Linked DNA regions of Homo sapiens: region 1 is linked to region 2. The links are contacts of gene promoters, found by promoter capture Hi-C in blood cells and fetal thymus (Javierre and others, 2016). All regions are on one chromosome and are shown on one strand. Each heading gives the region's core, a stretch centred on a gene start or on the middle of the fragment in contact. The rest is flanking DNA. Distances are from core to core; before and after follow the strand shown. Region 1 overlaps MINDY3 (MINDY lysine 48 deubiquitinase 3). Region 2 holds the start of TRDMT1 (tRNA aspartic acid methyltransferase 1).

Evidence for each region. Contacts are between HindIII fragments. The CHiCAGO score rates a contact against its expected background, and 5 or more counts as called.
Region 1: a contact is called between a fragment that was not itself captured here and the fragment with the promoter of TRDMT1 in region 2, in 2 of 17 cell types (total B cells and naive CD8 T cells). The highest score is 5.3, in total B cells.

Annotation. Positions count from the first base shown.
Region 1 is chr10:15,838,967-15,842,246 of GRCh38, reverse strand. It overlaps MINDY3 (MINDY lysine 48 deubiquitinase 3), which reads left to right. Exons shown (of 15, transcript NM_024948.4): 4 at 648-821. All of the region lies in intron 2 of LOC124902383 (a long non-coding RNA gene), which reads right to left. Among named protein-coding and RNA genes, the nearest start is that of MINDY3, 20 kb to the left of the region's middle. The HindIII fragment of the contact is 1,691 bases long and covers 946-2,636 here.
Region 2 is chr10:17,199,988-17,203,503 of GRCh38, reverse strand. It overlaps TRDMT1 (tRNA aspartic acid methyltransferase 1), which reads left to right and starts at 1,832. Exons shown (of 11, transcript NM_004412.7): 1 at 1,832-1,933. The coding sequence starts at 1,870. RefSeq lists a silencer at 2,135-2,194. The HindIII fragment of the contact is 5,194 bases long and covers 1-2,443 here.

The DNA.
Region 1 (3,280 bases), core at 542-3,041, 1.4 Mb after region 2:
TGAAAGTTTCAGAAAGTAATACTACTTCTTGAGAGTAATACTGCTTGAAAAGAGTGTGGCTAAGGTTCATAAAGAGATGGTCTGAGCATTTGCGCCATTTTCTATAAAATTCTAATGCTCAAATCTGTATTCTAACCACTGGCTTCTGCTGATGTAATGGACTTTGGTAACATATGTGCTGACGGTCTCTCATCTCATTATTCTTATCCCTTTGGGACGGGGTGATCATAGACGTTAGATTAATTCAGATGTGAGGGAAAAAAAATAGAGGTTTCAACAGGCCTTTACATTGTGCTCAGTTCTTCAGTAGAGGAAACCTCTTGGCTTAAATGCTGCAGTTGCTAAAGTTTTAAGAAAGTGATGATCAGTGTCACATTATGATCTTTCATAATGTTTAGTTCTGCATTTTTCAGTATTCTTTTTCTACTTGGTGGTGTTATTTGGATGGCTTTATTTAAAGTGGTGATATTTTAATCCACAAACACATTGTTTTTCTAAGACATAATTTAAAATCTATTTAGAGATTTTTCCCCCATTTTTAAAATGCTTGATTTTCATCATTAACCCATTCTTACTATTGTTATTCATGACAGAATTTTTTTTTTTCCAGAGGAAACCATTATAACTTATGCTTTGGTTATTTTTAGAGGAAGAGCAGAAGGAACTCCTTTGTCATACCTTGTGTGATATTTTAGAAAGTGCTTGTTGTGACCACTCTGGATCATACTGCTTGGTTTCATGGTTAAGAGGAAAGACAACTGAGGAAACTGCTAGTATTTCTGGGAGTCCTGCAGAGTCTAGTTGCCAAGTGGAACATTCTTGTAAGATATATTTTTATTTCCTGAAGTTTTTTTCTTGTTCCTTTGTTTTAATGAATCTATTGAATATTTTGAAGAAAAAATTACTTAAAATTTTCATAACATGTATTCTTTTCCAGCTTAAGCTTAATTACTGAGCCTCACTATTTTTTATTTCCATATCATTTATTTTAACTACTTAGAAGATACTACATTTTTGCAAAAAAAAATGCATCTCTTAAACTTTTAAAAATGTTCTGGTTAACTTCTGCTTGATAATAATCTCTTTTGAGCTTTAGAACTCTTATTTAGAAATAATGATATGCTTCAGTTTCAGATGCCTTAATGTTTTGCTTTGGTATTGCAAAAACGGATTTTTTTGGACATCAGAAGATTTCATAAAGTTATCTTTACTTGCTTCCCAGAGCAAAGATGGGGACATTTCTCCTCATTGCAAGCTGTTTCTTTTCTTTCCGAATTATTTGGATATTTTTATACATATAGATTATTTTAAGGCAATTTTAATTATGCCTTAAGTTTTTCATACCTTGAAGATAAGTTAAATAATAGCTGTTTACGTTAAATAATAGCTATTCTCATTATTCATAAAAATTATATATTCTGTGGTTTTTAACTTTTGAAAATTGTTATGTAATTGACCCGAAAGCTGCCAGTGTGAAATGGAGACAGCTAGTGGTACGGAAGCTAGTTAAGAGTTGCTTTTCTGATTTGCTTTTCAGGAATAATCTTGCTAGTTGATGGTTTTTTATAATTGGTAGTCCCAAGTGCTTATGTTAAATAAGTGACTTATTCTACCCACAGAGCATCACATTAACTATCATCTTTGTGGAAAGTTTTCGTAAAGAGATTACGTACCTGAAAGTACACTTCAATTGTATGGGATACACATTTTGCTTTCCATATAGTATTATCTATAAGGTGCTGTTGCCTCCCTGGACTAAAATGCCTCTGTGTTGTCAGTGTCTTTTTTCTCCTACCTCTGCAGTTAAAATGCCTTAAGCCTGGCAAATTCTAATAGTAGTAACATTTGCAAGGAATAATTTTGAACATTTGAACAGCTATATGATGCTTCCTTTTGAAGCCTTTGAAATATGGCCTTTCAAAAAGAACTTAACATATTTTAGAGTTTATAATGACATTTGAAGACAACAAGTGGAAAACAGTCACAAGGATGCTAGTCCAAAGTGTCACTAAGATTGGTTTTAACATATTCTCCAGGTTTTACTGTGTGGGTGTTAGCACACTTAATAGGTTCATTTAGGATATTAAAATTTTGAAAGAGGAATTGTTGATCTTTTGAAAAGGTATTTTAAAGATTTTGTGCTTAAAGCCAGTCTGTATATTGATGTGAGAAAATAGTAAGATCTTTTTATATAACATTTTCCATTAGTATCTTAACAGTATACTGAGTGCATACTATGAAATATGCTATGCAGTTCTGTGGTGATACGTCACGTTGCTATAGGTTAAAGGGCCTTATAATGCATTCCCTTTGGTACTTCAGTAACTAATTTAGATGGGCATATTATATTGAATTACCCTCCAGAAAACATTTTAGTAATTTTTCCAGTTTACTTTGTATCTCATTTTAAAAGTTGCCATGAAGTAAACCATATTTTAAATTTTTTAAATAATGTATACATTTGAAATACTTTGTTAACTGAAAATTTGAGAATTTACCTTAGTGACAAATGAACTGTATTTATATTACAATTTTTATTCCGTGTAACAATCTATTTTACCTGTTCTTTCCTTTATTCCCAGCTTTGTTCTTTTTCTTGTGTTTTATATTTTTTCACCATCCCTGCCTGCTAAGCTTTTTATTTTGCTTGCCTCTTTTCTCTAAATTATTATCTTTATGTCTACTCTTGTAGTATACCCAGTAAAACTATTTAGATAATCTAATGTTGCAGAACAAGCAGTATAATTTGGAAAAGATTAGGTAGAATTTTCATTTTCTGAAAGTTTTAATGTAAAGTGTTTTCCCCTCTTGTTAATATTACTTTCTCTACAAACATTAATTTCATTGGCTTATGTGGTGTGTATAGTTTTGGCTTGTTGGTAATGCACAGTTGTTCGCAGTAGTGAATACTCAGGTTCAATTTCAGTTTGTTTCCCACATAAACCAAGAAATAACTTAATACATTTGGACTGCTAAAGATTTTAAAACGAAATATGAAACACTCACAACTAGGCTTTGGAAAGCTAGCATAATGTGACATTTTAAATTGTAAATAAAAATCTAAAATTTTGACTTCATAATGAATCAATTTTCTTAACTCACCAGTGAGAATTTATATTTGATAGTAGTAAGATTTGCTTTATGAAATATATGTGAAGTTATTCATTGTGATAAATAACTCCCTGGAGCCAAGACTATCTGTGCTCAAGTCTCATCTCTGCTGTTTAATCCTATGTACTCTTGAGAGGATTTTTCTGTGTGCCTCAGGTTCCTCTTCTGT
Region 2 (3,516 bases), core at 583-3,082:
CAAAAGGAACCAGTGAATGTTATAATTTGGATGCAGTGGTTATACTTTTATTTGTTAACAGCATTACATTAGCAGGCATGCAACATTTCTAACAAATCAGTTATTGTTATTACAAGTGGTACCCCCAAGTTCCCCCTAACAAAAACCTGTGGCAGTGTTGGGAACAAAGAGAAAAACACTTCACAACGGGAACATTTTCTATCCTCCATATGGGTACATTATTTTTATTTATAATTGACTGTAAACACCGCTCCCCCCACAAAATTTCTAAGCTCCCCCCAACTGACTGATTGAACACCTCCACCAAGCGGATTCCAAAGAAACTTGAAAAACTAGTTCAGGCCATGCTGGGAAAGGGAAGTCAGACATGCCTCATTATACTTTCCTCTCTTTGGAGTTCAGGCACAACTGACCAGTATTATTATTAAAACAAGAGATCTTCATACCGACATAACAGACTCTTCTTAGCAATAAGATACCAAAATTCCAACATGACTCTAGTATAGCATCACATGAAAGATAGCAGGCCCTAAATCAAAGCATTTTACCCTAAAATAAATTTCTTTGACACTTTTTGAAATGGCCCTACACAGCCATCTCTTGTGGGGAAAATCTACATTCTATAGAGACTCCCTTTCCCTTTCCAGGTCTTTTCCTGATCCAAGAGATATTTAACTAAGAGTCTGGCATCTTTTTACACATGATAAGAGACATTTGCCAATTATTCTCTCTGAAGCCTGTTACGTATGAGACTTCGTCTACATAATAAGAACCTTGGTCTCCACCTTATCTTAACCCAGACACATTCCTTTCTATTGATTCCAGGTCTTTAGGTCACAACTTAACTCTTTCAACCAACTGCCAATCAGAAAATCTTTGAATCCACCTGTAACCTGGAATCCTTCCCCTTTTTGAGTTGTCCCATCTTTATGGACCAAACTAAGTACACCTTCCATATACCAGTTAATGTCCTTATGTCTCCCTAAAACCATATAATCCCAAGCTGTAGCCCAACCACCTTGGGTACATGTTGTCAGGACCCTGTGGGGTTGTGTCATGGGTCACGGTCCTCACCTTGTGCTCAGAATAAACCTCTTCAAACATTTTACGGAGTTTGGCTTTTTTCGTCAACATGAGCCTCTAACAGTTGGTTACTGGATCATCCTGAGGAATCAAGGCCATAGCACTTAAAGACCCATAAATAATCCTACATGATATTCACTGTGTATTCTATGTAGGTGTAATTTCCAAGCTAAAACATAATTAACCCCACTAATAGACACAACAAACATCCTCTGTATTATCAGCACGCACACAGGGCTTTCTCTGCTGCGAGTGGACTTGTGTCCTTACTTATAATTCTGGAATCTTCTCTAGGGGAGAGGCTGGTCTAATTTCTCTCTATTGACCCAGGGCAGGCAGGAAACAAGGCACACTGTGGAAAGAATGTTTGAATGTTCAGGCTTCTAAGTGACAGAAAAGCAGCTTGTCTGAAAAATGATTTTTTTCTGGCTTCTAACCAGTGTTAATTCACTTGGAAACCAAGGCAGTTTTCTCCCCTTTACTGAACTCTGGATTTCTTTTCCAATCAAGGCCCCTGACACCAAAGAAGGAAATGGAGCGTAAATCAGGCTACAGAGTGGCTGCCATTCATTCGGGAAGCCTTATTGTTTTCCGTCCTTTGTTCCCCTCTAGACCCTTGCCAATCCCCAGGCCGCGAGGCCCTCTGAAGCCCTGAGCCTGGAGCGGTAGGAGACGGGGGAACTGAAACGCCGCGGAACCAGAGGCTGAGGGAGCGGCGCGATGGAGGGAGGAGGAGCGACGGACCGGCAGGCCTAGCTCCGGGGCTGCGGCGGCTGAGGCGCGGGGATGGAGCCCCTGCGGGTGCTGGAGCTATACAGCGGCGTGGGCGGCATGCACCACGCGCTGAGAGGTGAGAGTCCATCTAGCACCCCTCTCTCTATTCGCTCACGGGGGCTGGTTGGAGCACCCGCGCCGGGAAGGGGCGGAGCGGCGAGACGCAAGGGGCGGACACTGTGGGGCGGACACTGTGGGGCGGCCCTCGGTTGTCCTGGAAACAGCTCCTGCGCGCCGCCGTGTCCACCCCTCCAGACGCTGACTCCCTTCTCCTGGCGCCGAGTCTGGCTCGAGGGGCCGCACATGGCGCCTCAAAGGGCCCAGTTGGGAGTCGGGATTCGCAAGGCAGTAAATCAACCTCAAAGGGTATCAAAGGGGCGAGACCCTCGCCTGGTGCCAAGCCCCCATTCTAAGTGTGCAGCCACCGAGAAGCATGGAGACTCGGTCCTTCATCCTGGGGGGCTTCCCAGCTGGGGAGGGAGGGAGTGTCAGGGGCTCCCCTGGTGAGAGATGGATCTTGGAAGGGATAATAGCTACAATTCAAGGTAGAAGTTTGCGAATGCTAAATAGGATGGTAGAGGAAGCTTGAAGAACTTGGACGTCTGATCGTTGGAAAGAAACGTGTCTTCTGTAGTTCTGCGTTTAGATGCCAGAGAACTGAGTTCCAGCTTGGTGGCAGTGTGACGTTGGGCTACTTCGTGAACAGTGATGAACCTGTTTCCTGGTTTTAAAAGAGAATGATTATTATAAGGATTAAAGTCTGTCAAGTGCTTGTTAGTGCCTGATACATTGTAACCACTCCAAATATTATACATTATTATCACTATTACTTTAAAACGACATCACGAGATATTATCAAGCAAACTATTACTTTTATGCACGTCTTTGATTTTGAGGTTTTTGATTTCTTTCATGCTGAGTTGGAACTGAAAGTTTTACTTTTGGTGATATTCACTCAAAATTATTTATTGAGCTCCTATTCTGTGCCAGATTTTGTGCTAGGAGCTGGGGATACAGAATGACAAACAGGCTTTGAAGGTGCATGTTTATTCTTAAATTACTAAGACAACCACCGAACTGAAACTTCCCTGCTTCCTTATTTAGGACCAAGAGTAACAAGAGTAACTGTAAGATACAGACAATATTTAATGGGTTTAGCGTATAAGTTTTTTGAGCAGATTTATTGAGTTTCAATTCTAGACTAGGTTAATGATCATTAAGTTTTTAGTACTTGTTTGCCGGCTATCTTTATTTCTCATTTTAAAACTTAGCAGCATCAAAGCAAAACTCTAGTACTATTTACTCTTTGTTAATTCTCTAAAGTGATATAATGTCCGCGTTTTCCCATATCTTGAAACTCCTTAATGAATTGCTTAGTACTTTATCATAAGCTGTAATTCAGCCATTCCTTAAGTGTCGAATATTTAGATCATTCTTCAGTTTTTTTGCAAGTACAGTGTGCTACAGTTACATTCTTGAGCATAATGCCGATTTTCTCTTTAAGCATGTTTACTAACTGTTGGAATTAATTCAACAGTAAGACTTAACTGTGTGCTAGTTACTAAGTGAAAAACAGAATTTTTAAGGCTTTTGAGAGAGAGGATAGCAAATTGCTTTTCAGAGATTTTTGAGTGCCTTAACTACATATTCATCAGGGAT